Regions from separate parts of the Homo sapiens genome. Here all the other regions are linked to region 2. The links are contacts of gene promoters, found by promoter capture Hi-C in blood cells and fetal thymus (Javierre and others, 2016). All regions are on one chromosome and are shown on one strand. Each heading gives the region's core, a stretch centred on a gene start or on the middle of the fragment in contact. The rest is flanking DNA. Distances are from core to core; before and after follow the strand shown. Region 1 has its middle 170 kb from the start of SNX7. Region 2 holds the start of PLPPR5-AS1 (PLPPR5 antisense RNA 1). Region 3 has its middle 150 kb from the start of SNX7.

Region 1 (2,879 bases), core at 175-2,674, 170 kb after region 2:
CACACCTGTAGAGTCTTTTTGTATCTGCATTAATTCAATCAACATTATGTACATATAATGTTGATTGAAATTATATATGTAATGTTGGTTGGATTTACAACATTGTGGAAGTTGTAGAGATTTTGCTTTTACATTTGGGTCCATGATACATCTTGAATTAATCTTGTGTATGGTGTGAGGTATGGGTAAAGCTTAATTTTTTTTAATTGTATATCTTCTTATTCTAGTAACATTTGTTGAAAAAAACTATCCATCCTCAATTGAATTACCTTGGCACCTATGTAAGTGGTTATATACATTTGGGTCTATTTCTGAAATCTCTATGTGTCACATTTATTATTTACCTGTTTATTTACTTGTTCAGTTAAATGTATGCTTATTTATTTGTTTATTTTATTTTAAATACCACAGTGTGTATATTACTAACTCTTTAAAGAAAGTCTTACTTAAGTATATATTTTCCAAATTCATTCTTGTGACAGATTTGGCTAATTTACTTTCTTTGTATTTTGATACAAACTTTAGTGTCAGACAATTTTTTCTAAAACAGAAATCCTGCAGATATTTTGATTTAGCACTGAATCTATAGATCAATATGAGAATAATTAACAACAATTGACAACAATATAAAATTTTTGAATCCATGAATATAATAGATATAGTATTCCATTTATTTAAATCTTTTTAAATTTCTATGGGTAATTTTCATTGTGGAAATATTGAAGATTTTTATTAAATGCATTCATAATACTTTATAATTTTGATAGTATTGAAAATAATATTGTTTCATTTTATTTTATATTCCACTTGTACTAAATATAGGAATTTAATTGTTTTTTATACTGACTCATGTTCTTCAACTTTGAAAGATTCACTTACTGTTTTGTAAATAGTTAATTTACTTTAAATGTAAGAAAAAACAATGTAAGAAATAATGTAAAAAATAAAAACATTTACGTAATGTAAGCAAAAAAGATAATAAAAACAATGTAAGAAAAAATAAAATTAGTCTTTGATATTTACCATTTTTAGTTCTCTACACTCATTCCTGTTGACCCATATTTCCATCTGGTGTCACTTGTTTCAGCCCAAAGAGTTTCCTTTAGCATTTGTTGTATTGCTTGTCTGCTGGTGACATATTCTTATAGCTTTGTTGTTTTCCCTTTAGTTTTGAAATACATTTTCACTGGATATAGAATTCTAAGTTGACAGGCTGTTTTTCCTGACATCTATTTAATGGTGTAGTCACATTGCCTCTGGCCTCTGTTGTTTCTGATGAGTCAGCAATTACTTATATTCTTTTTCTTTTGTGTGTAATATGTCTTTTTCCCTCTGGCTGCTTTTACAATTTTCTCTTTATGATTGCTTCTTAGAAGTTTGATGCTGAAGTGACTAAATATGGCTTTCTTTTCATTTTTATCTTTCTTGGGGTTTGCTTAGCTTCCTGGTTTTCTAGTTTGCTTTTTATAATCCAATTTGAATTTTTTTTGCCTAATATTTTCTGCTTCAACTGTTTTTCTGATACATCACTCTATCCATGTCTTCTGGACTACAAGTTCATTATATAGCTTGATGCTGTCCCACAGATTACTGAGGCTCCTTTCATTTTTCAATATTTTTGTTTTGACCTGAATAATTTCTATTGATCTATCTACAAATCCACTTATACATTTTTCTGTTTTTATCCAGTCCATTGTTAATTCCATCCAATGGATGTTTTATTTCAGATATTGCATTTTGCAGTTCTAAGAATTTCATTTGATTCCTTTTTGTAGCTCTGGATATCTCCTGAAATTTCTCAGGACTTCAATAATTATATTACTTTTTCATGTACAAAACGTACATGATAAGTACATGATAAGATATTTGCCATAGTTATTTTAAAGTTCTTGCTTACTTATCTGTTTTTTCCATCTTCACAATTTCTTTAAAATTTTAGACTACAAACTTTAGATAATAGTTGTGGAGCATGTCAATTCTGTTATATACCTCTGAAGAGTATTGATATTTGTCTGTAAATTATTACCTGATTACTTTGAACTAGTGAAGGCCATTCACTGTGTGCTTTGTTAGGAAGGAGCTATTTTAGTTTTGCCCTTAATCTTATCATTATTCCTTTAGTTCTGGTCATGTTCTTTTTCTAATCCCCATAGTCCCTCTGGACTTTCAATAAAAACACTGAAGTGTTTAACAAGCCTGTCAGAAATCCAAGCACAGCTTAACAGTTACAACTCACTCAAAATCTTTGATTAAGGTGGCTGTCAGCCAGGGCAGTGGTCTTATCTGAAGTTTCAGCTGGGTGGTTATATGAGAAGGTATAATCTATTTCATAACCATTACATGCTTACTGTCAGACCTTTTGTTCCCTTGTTGCATGGGCCTCTGAAAAGGGCCACATAACATGGCAGCTGGCTTTTCCTGGGGTAAGAAATCCAAGGGAGAGTGGGAGAGAAAGAACCCCAATTCAGAAGTCACAGTCTTTATTACTTGATTTTGGAAATGACATACCATCACTTCTGCTATATTCTTTCTTTACAACTGAGTAAATAAATCCAGGCCATACTTAATCAGAAGGCAATTATACAAGAGAGTGAATACAAGAGGTGGGACTTTTAGGGGTCATCTTAAAAGTTGCTTACCACACCATGTAAGCTTTTATAAGTAATAAAACATATAGTGACATATTGTCATTGTGTTAGTCCATTCTTGCATCACTATGAATAAATACTTGAAGCTGAGTAATTTATAAGAAAAAAAGGTTTATTTTGGCTCATGGTTGTGCAGGCTGTACAGGAAGCATGGTTCCAGCATCTGCATGTAGTGAAAGCCTCAGGAAGCTTACAATCATGGTGGAAAGAGAAGGGGAACCAGCATGTCCC
Region 2 (2,976 bases), core at 111-2,610:
TGGAATCTGCAATGCCTCCTCTCACAAGCAGCTAATAAAGACAGACTGAAAAGATGAGCAAGAGAATGCATGGATCCAGGAAGGGGCCGCTGTACAAGAGATGATGCTTCGGGAGCTACTGGGCTATGATTTCTATTATTATTTGTATATACATATATATATACACAAAGCCCTAGGAAGCTGCAGAGGAGGCAAAGAAACCTCGCTGAGATTTTTCTAACAGCGCCTAGAAACCACCGCCAGGCTCCAGCCCCGGGCTGGGTCAAGGAATTCGAGGGATGCAGGCTGAACGCACCGGTTGAAACTCTGGGCGCCGCATCGGCACTTTGCGCCTTGGTGGGCTTTGCGCTCGGAAGACGCGTCCACGCACCATTTTCCCAGGCGTTGTGCGGGTTTCTTAAACCTCTCAGCTGGTGCCTCGGAAGAGTTTCTGGAAGCTCCATCTCTACTGCCTCCCCTCCCCCCCTTTTGATTTTACCCCCGCCAGGAGCTTCTCCAGCCCCACAGCGTCCGCCCTGTGAGGGGTACAGGTGCCGCTGTCCCGCCGGCTGCCGCCCCGTCCGCCCACGCAGCGCCTCCTCCGGGCTAGCCTGGGGGATTGACCCAGCGCCGCTGCTTCTCGAATGGTCTCGTGCAGGGGCGCAGCGGCCGCTGCCCGTCGCCCGGGACTCCCCGCCCTCCCTCGCGACCCCGCGCCGGGGCGGGCGGCGCTTGCGGCGGGCAGGGGGCGGGCAGGGGAGAGGGGGCTCGTCCGGGGGTAGCCGCCTCCTCTGCAGCCTGCCGGCGCCTCGAAGCCCGGACCTGCCTCCGCCTCTTCCTCCAGCGGCTCCATCCCGCCTCCCGTGCCTCGTCCTCCCGCCGCCTCCGCCGCCGCGCCCCCGGTGGCTGCCTCGGCGGACCGGGGAGGGGGCCCACCGCGTCGACCGCCCGCTCGGCTCGGCTCGGCCCGGCCCGGGAGGCGTGCATGCCCCTGCTGCCCGCGGCGCTCACCAGCAGCATGCTCTATTTCCAGATGGTGATCATGGCAGGGACGGTGATGCTGGCGTACTACTTCGAGTATACGGACACGTTCACCGTGAACGTGCAGGGCTTCTTCTGCCACGACAGCGCCTACCGCAAACCCTACCCGGGCCCGGAGGACAGCAGCGCCGTGCCCCCCGTGCTCCTCTACTCGCTGGCCGCCGGGGTCCCCGTGCTCGTGGTAAGCCCGGGGGCGCTCGCCCTCGTCGCCGAGTCCCTGATCTCGCCCCTCGCCTTCGGGGTTGAGGCCCCTCTAAGGGTTGGGGCGCAGTAGGTTTTGCCTTCTAAGTTCCTCCAAGTTATGGGCAGCCCCTTCCCCAGAGGACATTCTAGGGCGCGTGAGGGTGGGTGCGAAGGAAGCCCCCAGCTCTTCCCACACGTCACCCCCCCACACCCCGCGGTGGCTTCAGCGTTGGGTGACTGGGCGGGGATGGAAGGGAAGAGGGGCCGTAGGTGGTGAGGAGTGGGGATCCGGGTTGCAAAGGAGGTGAGCTTTGGGGGTGAACCTTGATTCCATCCACTCTGTGGCCTTGACTCGCTCACTGCCTCCTCTTCGATTGTGCCTGGAAGAAGAGCAGCGGCGGGCGGGCCGGCGAGGAGAGAGGGGATCAATTGCTGGGGTGTGAAAGGGACTCCCACTTCCCGAGTCGGGGCACGTATTTCTATTTCGCCACCTCCCTCCTTTTCAGGTGAAAGTGCCAATGGGACTAAGCTGACCAGGGAACAAATATCTGAAAAAAGAATTTGAGAATTTCTAAATGAAGAGGCCTCAGCACCAGTGCTTTGCTGAAAAGCAGGAGCTGTACCTCAATTACAAGAGCACTTCAGATTTATTTAAAGGCTGCTCCGCTCCCTGGGCAATTTAAGTCCTTTTCTCTTAGAACCTCACAGAGCATGCCTTTTGGATTTATTGAGTGTATGTGTGTGTGAGAGAAAGAATGACTATACAGATACACTCACGTGTATACACACACCTCACATATATACATATGAAATTATTGGGGATAAATTACACATAATAATATTAATTTTATTATAGTAATTTACATATGTGAATATGCTACATATTTATTCTTAGGAGAATTGTTGGTGTTTCTTTAGAAAACCTGATATTTTATGGTTCCTTTAATATTGACAAAGTATTGGAGGTTCCCTTCCTGTGATGCGCGCTCTCTCTCTCCCTCAACAGATAACAAACGGGAAATAAGAAAATGAAGGGGAAAGGAAGAATGAAGTTTTATTTTCAGTAGCTAAATGTGTAAATTGAATGTTAAGAATGTCTGTTGAATCCATTAAGTTTGGATGTTCATCTTTTTTTTTAATTTTAGGAGCAATGACTTACTAATTTGTAAAATAATGAAAAGTTCCTAACACATAAGATAGAAATCAGTGAACAAATCAAGTAATTTCTTGATAACCTTAAAGTAACTTTATCACATGTCCTGTGATAGTTGACTTCAAATTGCCTCTGTCATAATGGTTTGAAATGTGTTAGACCTTGCCCCAGATAATGTTTTACATATATATATATATATATATATATATATATATATATATATGTAAAATAAGTTGCTAAAATGTGTTAGAAGCCCCAAATCCAGCCTTCATGTTTGTGTTCTCTTTTCTCCATTTGACAAGCTGGCAGAGAAAAAAAAAAAGGTCGATTTTTGGGGGCCCTTTTTACTTTCTGGAGATCGGGGTTTCCCATGTACAGTTTTCCAGGAGACTAAATAGCTCAGATATTTTTCAAGGATTGTTTTAAAGAAAAAGGAAGAGCCTGTCACTTTCAGCTCATTGGTTTGGTCATAGCTATAATCAATAATGTCTGTAACTCATCCTTTAATTCCCATTCTATGTCTTATTTAAATAAGATAGCACTTTTCAGTCCTAACCATCCAATCATGGTGGCAGGTGCTAGTTAGAGACGAGAGCACACTCACCCAATGATTTGGATGA
Region 3 (3,111 bases), core at 365-2,864, 190 kb after region 2:
TGTTACATAATGATGGAGAGTTTATCAACACCATTGCCCTCTGTAATGTGAAAAAAAAAATAGAATATGTACCTCATGTGCTTCTTGAATATAATGATATAGCTAAGGAGATTTCTAGCATAATATTACAATTGTCACCTGGCTTCCTTTCTAAGCCTTTGATAAAATATGAAAGGAATAAGTTGAGGAATAAGAAAAAAACTGTTAATAAATATCAAGGACTAAGGACGTGTTGGGCTTGAAAATAAGACTATTTTTCATTTCCAGTGTTTCCAGGTTGGAAATGATTTTCAAATTAAGAAAGGACCACACCAAAGGTCAAACTCTGGATGGGACTATAAGCTATTTTGTTAAAACTTCAGAAAGTTCTAATATAGTGCCTCATAAAAGCTTTCAGACAAACAAAAAGCACTTTCAAGTGCTTAAGAGAATGTCTTGCAGATTCTCTGCACCAAAATATGAAGCTTGTGTTTTGGTGGGTAGCTGCCCTGAGTGATTCCAAGATAGACAAGGGCCAGTCTTAAAGATACTTCTACTTGTGACTTTTTAAAATTGGGATGAACCGTAATAAGATTCATAAAACAGTCACAACATTTAAAAAAAATGTTTTGGCACAAGCACTGAGATCACACATGGAAAAGAGCAGAAACAGTACCAGATGAGAAGAAACCTTTGTACTCACAATATTCTACAGGCAGAGAGCAGGCTGAAAAGGCTCCTCAAATGAAACCAAAGACCTGTTCTTGTGGAAAAGGAGAAACTCAGAAGACACAACTGAGAAATATTGAGAACAACTCCCAAGGAATAGGACTGATCAAAGAATTGGCAAAATATGTCCCATTGCATATTAGAGCTGCTATGAACCAGTGAATACTGTCTATCATATCCCCCGGTTTTGAGTAGTTATCTTATTCCTGTCCCAGAATTATATGTTGGGGCAGTGAGGAGAAAGGTAGAGAACAGATAATTTGTCTCTTTTAGTTCAAAAGTGTTTAGACTGAGAGGAACTGAATTCCTTCCAGTACTGAAGAAGCTGTACTTGAGGAACTGCATTTAAGGAACATAGACCTGAGCTAAATAATGAAATACTGGGCTTTGAGCAGATGCTGTAATGAATTACAGTTTGGAAATCTTGGGGCAGGGGTGGATGCATTTTACCTCTAAGAGTAACGTGAATTGTTGTGACCAGAGCCTGGATTGTGGCAAACTATACTTGCAAAGATGCCCATCATCAGCATCTCTCATTATGTGATCTTACAATGTGATCTTGAGTCTCCTGTGATTTTGTGGTGGCATCTATGTCCCCTTCTAGTGAACATGGGTAGGGCTTTGTGACTGCCTCTACTCACTGAGTACTGTGGAAGTTACACCATGTGACTTCCAAATCTGGGTGACAAAAATCTTCATAAAGAAGAAATGTGTTAAGAAAAGTGGAAACAATCTTTATGAGTCATAGAAAAATGAAAAGCAGAGAATGAGTTTGGCAGTAGTTCTTCAACACTTGCTAAAGAAAACAGACATGAAATCTTACAAACACATTTCTTACTCACTAGAGAAGTGGAACCAGTTGTGCAGCAGGGAAGATGTGAAGAGCCTCACCATGGACGAGTAAAACCTATCTCAAACTTTCTGTTTCTCTTTCTCTGATTCTGTGCCTATCAATGAACATCCTAATAGCCAATTCAACAACCCCAGACTCTATAACTGGGTAGGAATTTACTTGGGTAGAAGAAGGATATCTTAATGGCTGGAAATGAAAATCCCTTATTGTGAACTGATGAAATAAAAATCAGTTTACTTAAATTTGGTTAGTATGAGTTAGTCTTTATGACCAATGAACTATGATCATGTCATTGTGTTACTGGGTCTACAAATGTGAGAAAGACAGCACAATGAGAAAAAAAAAAAACACTTGGGAAACCCAATTTAGAAGGCTCTTTGTTTTCCCTTTTCATCATATTATTTGAACACTATTCCATTTCTAAATTCCATGCAATGGATTTAGAAAAAAAATGTGATGTTAATAGAACAGGCTGAGTTGAGATGACAGGCAGGGTTAGATATAGGTCAATTTAAAAGACATTTGTGATATTAGAGATCTTAAATAGTGGATCAAATATTTTTTTCCAAAGGCTTTTGCAATAACAATAAGCATCTAAGTATGTAAATTGTATTTGTAATCTGAATAAATTCATCAACAAAAACCTGCCACAGATTTTTCACTCCAGCCTCCTTTTGGTTGGACATTTCCCACAGCTTTTTTGCAAGTAGAAATTGTCTATGAATATCTGTTTGGGAAAAAAAAACCCATATGATATGAAACCCCATTAGAAATTTTAAGATTTAGAGAATAGCACTTAGAGCTAATAAATATATTCTTATAATTTTTATTTTATCATTTTGTGATTGTATTCTCTCCTTTCTACCTTCCTTATATTTTTATATAGCCATACCTTAGAAAATGGCCATTAAATATCTTCGAAAACTTCCAAAATTCAAATCTCAGATACAGATAGGCAGTAAAGACATTTGAGAGAAGAAAGCCATGCATTTTCCATATCAGCAAATGAGAGATATATCTCTAGCATCATCTATACCTCCAACCTGTGCTTCATAGTGGACAACTTGTGCTCACAAAGCACACCATGCTGATTGCCTCCTCTGTGCTTGGGAATATCCTCCTACTTCACAGTCTACCTGATAAATGTCCGCAGCAGATGGCTTAGTATGACATGCACTACTTTTTAAAAGGAGATAAGCTTAAACATACTTTGTTTTCAATTTCTGTTTTCATATTTTGTTTTCAATTTCATATTTTTCAATGTTTTGTTATCATATTTTGTTTTCATTTTTTTAAGTTCTCATTTACAGGTTAACACCTGATTTTCTTTTCTTTATCCTCTAAAGTGACACAATCATAAACTTTAAGAAATATCTAAAGAATAACTATTCATATTTTAAGACTTTTTTAAAGTGCTACAAACTTTACAAAGATATCATGATGCCATGTTACAAATTTCAAGATGAAAACAATCTCATTTTTGCTGTACAAGTATTGTACCTACCATAACCTCTTAATCAGAGGATTTATAATATTTCATTAAGCTATTA

The links. The method cuts DNA at HindIII sites, captures the fragments that hold promoters and counts their contacts. A CHiCAGO score of 5 or more calls a contact.
Region 1: a contact is called between a fragment that was not itself captured here and the fragment with the promoter of PLPPR5-AS1 in region 2, in 1 of 17 cell types (M2 macrophages). The highest score is 5.2, in M2 macrophages.
Region 3: a contact is called between a fragment that was not itself captured here and the fragment with the promoter of PLPPR5-AS1 in region 2, in 8 of 17 cell types (neutrophils, non-activated CD4 T cells, activated CD4 T cells and 5 more). The highest score is 8.9, in neutrophils.

The regions. Positions count from the first base shown.
Region 1 is chr1:98,828,616-98,831,494 of GRCh38, reverse strand. No RefSeq gene overlaps it. Among named protein-coding and RNA genes, the nearest start is that of SNX7, 170 kb to the right of the region's middle. The HindIII fragment of the contact is 2,461 bases long and covers 194-2,654 here.
Region 2 is chr1:99,002,660-99,005,635 of GRCh38, reverse strand. It overlaps PLPPR5-AS1 (PLPPR5 antisense RNA 1), which reads right to left and starts at 1,360. Exons shown (of 3, transcript NR_033940.1): 1 at 991-1,360. PLPPR5 (phospholipid phosphatase related 5) reads left to right here and starts at 775. Exons shown (of 6, transcript NM_001037317.2): 1 at 775-1,201. The coding sequence starts at 965. RefSeq lists an enhancer at 943-1,917. The HindIII fragment of the contact is 4,191 bases long and covers 1-2,976 here.
Region 3 is chr1:98,812,385-98,815,495 of GRCh38, reverse strand. No RefSeq gene overlaps it. Among named protein-coding and RNA genes, the nearest start is that of SNX7, 150 kb to the right of the region's middle. The HindIII fragment of the contact is 2,295 bases long and covers 467-2,761 here.